Regions from separate parts of the Homo sapiens genome. Here region 1 is linked to region 2. The links are contacts of gene promoters, found by promoter capture Hi-C in human tissues and cell types (Jung and others, 2019). All regions are on one chromosome and are shown on one strand. The core of a region is centred on a gene start or on the middle of the fragment in contact, and the rest is flanking DNA. Distances in the headings are between cores, read along the strand shown.

What was found. The method cuts DNA at HindIII sites, captures the fragments that hold promoters and counts their contacts. A contact is called where the count stands out against the background at its distance.
Region 1: a contact is called between a fragment that was not itself captured here and the fragment with the promoter of TGM6 in region 2, in 2 of the 25 tissues and cell types used here (neural progenitor cells and thymus).

The regions. Positions count from the first base shown.
Region 1 is chr20:2,281,660-2,285,436 of GRCh38, forward strand. No RefSeq gene overlaps it. Among named protein-coding and RNA genes, the nearest start is that of TGM3, 12 kb to the right of the region's middle. The HindIII fragment of the contact is 5,447 bases long and covers 1-3,777 here.
Region 2 is chr20:2,379,577-2,383,464 of GRCh38, forward strand. It overlaps TGM6 (transglutaminase 6), which reads left to right and starts at 1,325. Exons shown (of 13, transcript NM_198994.3): 1 at 1,325-1,399. The coding sequence starts at 1,393. The HindIII fragment of the contact is 30,296 bases long and covers 1-3,888 here.

The DNA of each region.
Region 1 (3,777 bases), core at 285-2,784, 98 kb before region 2:
ATTACAGGCATGAGCCACCACACCTGGCCTTTGAACTAAATAATTTCTAAGTGCCCTTGTAACTATGTTTCATCCATAGAGGAGGTGGCCTGGTATAGTGAAAACAGTGTGGACTTTGGAATCAGTACTGGGCTTAAATCTTGGCTCTGCCTTTTAGTAGCTGTGTGGCCTTAAGTAATTGATTTAGATTTCCAGAGTTGGATTTACTAATCTGTAAGATGAGCCTAATAATACCTGTTTGTTATGGTTGTAGGTTGTTGAGAGTATTAGATGAGGTAACAGATATGAAGGATCAACAGCAGTGTTTGACAAACAGTAGGCCCATAATAAGTATTAGTTCCTTTGCTCTATTACGTCTAACGCTCTACTTCCACCCCTTACCTCTACCACCAAACTCAGAGTGGACTGTTGGCAGGCAGAGAATGCAGCAGGGAGGCAGACTGAGTCCAGGTCCTCACATGGCCCTAATCGTGCTCTCTCAGTTTCACGGAAGGACCACACCCCAGCCTCCTCTTTGGTAGGGGGACCAAAGGTGAAGGGGCCAAGGGGGAGGTGGCAGAGAATCCTTCCCTCCTTTGCCAAGCGAATGTGTCTTCTCTGTGTCTTCTCTGTGCTAGGCAACTAGATGGTGTTAGTAACAAGAGAAGATAAAAGGATGCTTTCAAACTTTACAGAATGAACGCCCTCTCTCATAAATCCACTACCTAAAATAGCAAGCCCCAACATGAGGGCAAAGCCTTGGCCTGTCTGCCTGGGCAGGAAGGTAGCACAAAGGTGGGATCTGACGGATGGTGGAGTGAGAAGGCAGGGTTAGGAACCTGAAAGGGCAAGGCTTAGAAAGGCTTCTAGGAGCCTTGGCACCAGCAGAGCCATGGCGGGGGGATCTGCGCTCAGAGCAAAGCCACCAGTTGGCAAACACAAATCAGTCTCCAAGTTCGCACCACACAGGACTTGTTTGTGGTGGAGGAAGCAAGACATCTGCCAGGGAGGCAAGAATGGATGCTGGGGCTTGGCTTGTTGCAGGGCCTGAACCAGTGGGCTGGATCAAATGCATTGAACCTCTGTGGACGGGTCTCATTTTTGTATTACTCTTTTTTTTCCCTTCCTTCCACTTTAGGGCAATATTAGAAGAAAGAATGCAGGGGCGGGGTGTGGTGGCTCACGCCTGTAGTCCCAGCACTTTGGGAAGCTGAGGTGAGTATATCACTTGAGGCCAGGAGTTCGAGACCAGCCTGGCCAACATGGTGAAACCCTGTCTCTACTAAAAATACAAAAAAATTAGCTGGGGTGGTGGCGGGCGCCAGTAATCCCAGCTACTCCGGAGGCTGAGGCAGGAGAATCACTTGAACCTGGGAGGCAGAGGTTGCAGTGAGCCGAGATCGCACCTCTGCAATCTATCCTGCGCACCAGAGTGAGACTCTGTCTAAAAAAAAATTAAAAAGAAAATAAAAAGAAAGAATGCAGGCCTTGGAGACAAGAGTGGTTTTAAGTCTTACTCTGCCTTTGCTAGTTTTGTCTCCTTGGGCAAGTTACTTAACCCCTCTGAAGCTTAGTTTTCTCATGTGTAGGATGAGGAAGATAATTTCTACTCAGAGAGTAGTTGCAGGGACCGAATGAGTTATTGCTAGTGAATTCCAGAGTGTGGCACGTGTAACCCAGACACGGGGGCAGACATTTTAAATTCTAATAGTCAATGTTTAGTTTCATAGGCATTAGAAAAATAATTGACAAACCAAATCATTTTATGAATGTTATTGATTAGTGCAAGACTAAAGTAGTTAGGTAAGTTAATTAATTAATGTATTTATTTATTTTGAGACAGAGTTTCGCTCTTTCACCCAGGCTGGAGTAAAGTGGGGCAATCTTGGCTCATTGCAACCTCCATTCCCTGGATTCAAGCGATTCTCCTGCCTCAGCCTCCCAAGTAGCTGGGATTATAGGCACGCACCACCTCGCCTAGCTAATTTTTGTATTTTTAGTAAAGATGGGGTTTTGCCATGTTGGCCCAGCTAGTCTCGAACTCCTGACCCCAGGTGATCCACCCGCCTCAACCTCCCAAAGTGCTAGGATTACAGGTGTGAGCTACCGCGCCCAGCTGGTAAGTTAAAGAAAAAAGGGAAAGGGAGTTAATTTAAAGAAAAACTTTAAGTTAATTATGATGTAGCTGGTGGGCAGATGTGGCAAAACTCAAGAAGGTGCTGTGTGAATGACTAAAGTACAGGAAACTGAATTAATACCCACTCAATCATGGTGGCTGGTTCGTGGCAGGCACTGAAGGTCATTTCCAAGAAAGTAAAGAGGTTTAGAAAAGGAAGGGAGGGAATAAGGGAGGAAACAGACCTTCTTAGTTGTCTACCTACTTAGCCTGTAGGTCCACTTCAGCCATACTCTTCTTCCAGAGGTTCCCTTTTTGTTTTTTCTTTTTAAAAATATTTTTTAATTTTATTTTATTTTTCTCTACTAGGTTAGCCAGGCATGATGTCATGCACTTGTAGTCCCAGCTACTTGGGAGCCTGAGGTGGGAGGATTGCTTAAGCCCAGGAGGTGCAGATTCCAGTGAGCTGAGATCATACCACTGCACTCCAACCTGTGTGACAGAGCCAGGCCCTCTCCCAAAAAAAATAAATAAATAAAAATAAAATAAAATAAAATAAAATAAAATAAAATAAAATAAAATAAAATAAAATAAAATAAAATAAATAAAATAAAATAAAATAAAATAAAATAAAATAAAATAAAATAAAGGGTATACGGTGAAGAGTCAGTCTCTTTTTTTCCTTAACAATTAGGCCCCTAGGTTCCTTTCCCAGAGAAAACAACTGTTAACATCTTCTTTTAAATCTTTCTTTCTAAGTATATGCAAGCATAATTGTGTAGGAGCCTGTTTTTTTCAAAGCTCTTTTGATGAGAATTTATATCTAGAATCCTAAGACTTAAAAGTGCAAGGAGGGGGATGCGTGAAACACACTAAGATCATCTTGTTCAGAGATCTCAGTGAGAATCAGAAAATGCGTGGAGGTGGCCACACTCATTGACAATCTATGTCTAATGAAAGATGTTTTTGTTTTGTTTTGTTTTAGAGACAGGGTCTCATTCTGTTGCCCAAGCTGGAGTACAGTGGCATGATCATAGCTCACTGCAGCCTCAAACTCCTGGGCTCAAGTGATGCTCCCACCTAGGCCTCCCAAAGCATTAGGATTACAGGCATGAGCCACAGCACCTGGCCTGAGAGGTGTTTCTGGTGAGCACATATAGAACATGAGATAATGTGAAGGTTGAAGCAAAGGCTGAGACCTACTGACTTAGGCCAAACCATTTCCCAAGGTCTCCAAATGAGTTAGTGACAGACCCAAGAATCTAGTCTAGCTAGACTCTAAGTTCTCAGGTATCTAACTTGCTGCCACAGTTTTACCAAGATGTAAACATTCAGGACAGAGACTCTGAGCCAGAGGAAGTCCTCCCAGCCACTTTGCTACAGTGTAGAAGGTCAGGAGAGACCAAGTGTTTGGGGCCTGTTGAAAGTAGAGAGTGGCTAGGAACTTATCTGGTCTCATATTGTAAGGAACATAAAGGAATAATTCCATTTCCTTTCATGTTTCCTGTGTACAAGTCCTATAAATATTGCCATATCTCTAAGAGCAAACCTTGTTTGGACTTTCCAGACTTTTGCTTTCCAAAGAGGTGACCAGAGACGTTTCCCAGACATCCTCCACTTCCTGTTGTTGTCCACACTGTCTTCCAGTAGAGAGGGTGGTAGCATCATTTGAAGTCACCCTT
Region 2 (3,888 bases), core at 75-2,574:
TGGGGAGGAGCCTGACCCTGCATAGGCAGAAAAGCAGCTTCAGCAGGGCCCAGGGTCTACAGGGCAGCAGCCTGCAGGGTGTTGAGGAAGGAGCTGCCCTGGGCTGCTGCCAGATGTCAGTAATTATAAGGCTATGTGGGTCTGCAGACAGCTCATTAAAGACGCTTGATCTGCGTGAAACCAGGAAGCAGAACTCAGCCTCTTTGCCACTTTCTGTAAGAAATCCAACCACATCAAACACTTTGGGGTTTTTATGCAGTTTCCTGAATGTTGGGGTGATCCCAGGGAGCGGCCTCATCCTACTGTGCTCAGCACACGGTTGTCTCCTTACCCTTCCTTGTCTCTTTCCCTCGATTCTACCCCCTCCCACTTCCCCTTCCTCACTGGCCCAGGCCACATCCAGCCTTCGATAGCCCCAAGTCATCCATCAAAGCATTTCTCCGGCAAAAAGAAACCTACCCCACCGGCTTCCATGAAAATAAAATCCCCTCTATTTCATTAACAAAAGACCTCAGATGCCTTGAATTCCAGCACCTTCAAGCCCAGAATCTTAGACTTTGAGCTGGAATGGCCCTGAAGAATAATTGAGTCCAATCCCTTTAGTTTGTAGGTAGAAACACCAGGGTTCCAGGAGGGGAGAGGTCTTGTCCAAGGTCACGGGACACCCATGGCCACCAGGCCTCTAAGCTCCTGGCTGGAGGCCACTCACAAAGTCAGGGCAGATGGGCCTAGCTTCTGAGTCAGAACCAGCTCTCCCCTTTTTCTTATCTACCTCCTCTCAAGAGTCTAGTGTCCACCAAGGAAGTCTAGTGGCCCTGAAGGAGGATCATGGACCTCTGCCTCTTTAGATGCCTGCAGAACAGAGTGGAGCTGTGGGCCCAGGAGTCTTCTGCTCTCACCCAGGAGGGGAGAGGGAGCCACAGACTGACCCGGCACTGCAGCGTGCAACCATGTACTTCGGGGTCCTGGCGCTGAGCCTGTTTTTTCTCATTTGAGGGTTGTTGTGAGGGCTAAGAATGGCCAACCATAAATCCGAGTTCCCTCAGTCTTCTCTCTTTCCCCGTTCTTTTTCTTGCCAGGCTTGTGACCTTTCTGAGCCTCAGTTTCTCCACAGTCCCATTCGCAACTCCGTGTTTCCAAGGTCTCTTGGCAGGAGCCACTCCCACAGTGAACCCCTCTAGGTGCAATTACAGGATGATTTTGTGTCTCGTGGGTGTCGCTGCTAGGGTGGAGGGCCACGCCTCCTCTTTTGAATTCTGACTTTCCTGCCTAGGAGTGTCCCAAGGTTTTCCTTGTTAAAATTGGTCTGGCTGGCTGCTGTGACGCGCCACACTGTCCTGACGGTGCACACACTGCTGTGTGGAGGAACAGAGGAGTCCAGCTGGCCTTCACATGGCAGGTAAGTGGGCAGAGCCTGGGGCCTTGGGACACCAGGGCTCATGAGGGGGGCTTCAAGAAACACGGGTCTGTGGGATGACGTTTGATCATCGATTGTTAGGATTTTACAGCTGGATAGTCCACCATGAACACATGAACTCTTCGTGTGGATTCATGAGGCCCAGGATGAAAAAGCCAGCTTTAAGCCACCCAGCAAGGCCATGGCCCAGGCTGGCTCAGGCGCTGTCTCCTGGGCTGGGGCCAGGTCTCACCCCTGTGCCTCGGAGGACTGAAGGAGGCAGGCACAGGAAGGCAGGGGCAGAAAAAAGAAAATCTCCTTGCACCCCATGCACATTCCATGGATCCAGAGACGTTTCTGGGCATAGTTGGGAATTGTGGCCTGCGTGGGAAGGAGTGAGAGGCCCCCACCGGCTGCATCCTCGCCTGATTCCCACCCCAAGCACTTGAGGGCAAGAGCAGCTCTGGCTCAAGTGAAAACAGCTATATGACCTTGAGCAAGAAAATTTGCCCTTGGTACCTCTGTTTTCTGATCTGTGTAATGGGGATTATAATGCAAATTATCTCACAGCCTTGCTGTGAGGAGTTGGTGAGACCACGTGTGCTGTTCTCCCACCACACATCTCAAGTGGGGACTTGTAAACAGTAGACTCAGAAAATGTGGGTCGGGCACAGTGGCTCACGCCTCTAATCCCAGCATTTTGGGAGGCTGAAGGGGGTGGAATTCTTGAGCTCAGGAGTTTGAGACCAGCCTGGGCAATGTGGCAAAACCCCGTCTCTACAAAAAAATACAACAATTAGCTAGGCATGGTGGGGAACACCCAAAGTCCCAGCTACTTGGGAGGCTGAGGTGAGAGGATCGCTTGAGCTTAGGAGGTAGAGGCTACAGTGAGCCAAGATGGTGCCACTGCACTGCAGGCTGGGCAACAGAGTGAGACCCTGTCTCAAAAAAAAAAGAAAGTAAGATAATGTGTCCCCCACGACCTCAATATAGTGAGCAGCAAACTCCCTCTGCAAGAACTTGTCTTAGATGCTGGGGCCCGGTAATGAGCAAGTCAGCAGAACCAGGGGTCCTACACTCACAGGTATTCAAGGGGTGTTTCTGAGTCTGTGTCTGCCAGTTTTAATTGTTCAGCATTATGTGACAGTTTTATGAATCAAATATTTTTTTAACTTTCAAAGGCAGATATTTGAATTTCCTCATCATAGTCTAGCTTCCTCTTCATATTTCCTCCTGGCAGTTAACAGCATTGCTGGACGTGTTGGGCCCTTCAGGCTCCTAGGATAGGTCTGTTCTGAAGACCAGGCCTTGCCAACACCAGCTCACAGCCCAGACTGCCTGTTTCCAGAGCTGGGGTTGCCTCCCTGATGGCCCTGGTGCAGAGGGGATTGCCTTTGTTCCTCCAAGATCTGCTTCTCAAAGTTCACCTAGATGATCCCTCTTCCCTGGGCCTTTGATAACCTATCAGACTTAAACTTGACAGTGCGAAGGTTAGTTTCTGAGGAAGGAAAAAAGTTGATGATGATGCCCATTGTCAGGTCTGTAACTAACTTGCTGGGTTCCTCTCTCTGAAGCTCTGTTTCTCCGTCTGTGAAATGTCAGCATTGGAGTTGTCATGCCTATGTAAATGGACTATGTGTTGGATTGGATTCAATTCCTGGGTCTTCTGGGTCCTCTTGGCTTCTTGGGAGGATCTGTTCCTCAGAGCAGTAGGTCCTGCCTACCACACACTCTGTGCCTGAATGACTGAGACATCAGATCCTAGATGGAAAGTGTATTCATCTTCCTGGAGCTCCTTCTATCCCCCCTCCCTCACTCCATCCATGGTGGACATCCCTAGTTGACCCCAGAGCTCTTCCCTCTGGAGCCTGGATGTGGCCCCAGAATGCTCAACCCAGCTCTTTAAGTACCAGTTGATCAGTGTTGGCAAAGGAGGTGAGACCCTTTTGCCATGATTAAATTACAATCATCTTTCAGCTCAGAGATTCCAAGAATTGAGTGGAATACTGTATGTGAGGCTGGCTCTGGCTGGGACATTGGGTTGGAGTTGATGAGTCACTGCCTCCTGGTGAAAGAGAGGCCAGCAGCTTCCAACAAGACCAGGAAGGAAAGAGAGATGGGGCAGTGGCCCCAGAAAGGCCCCAGGCAACTCTCGATAAATCATTTAGTCATGGAGTTCAGGTGCTCATGATGCGTACTAAGCATAGGATTATAATGGGGCCCATTAAAAACCAATTATGCTTAGTCCAGAGTCTGGAAGATGCCACTGGCTTCAACAGAGTTTCCAGGGCTCAAGCCCACTGGCCTGAGACAAAGAATTGGGGAGGATTGTATCATTCAGCTCTCTGGTATCACCCAAGGGCAGGAGGAGGAAGATGGATGAGCTAGGCTTGGGGGTGGGGATGGGTGGAGAGCTAAGTCGGCAGGAGGCAATGTTCTGCACATGGACCCTTCCCTTTCTTAGGTGGAGCTCTGGGGCCAGCTGGTGAGCA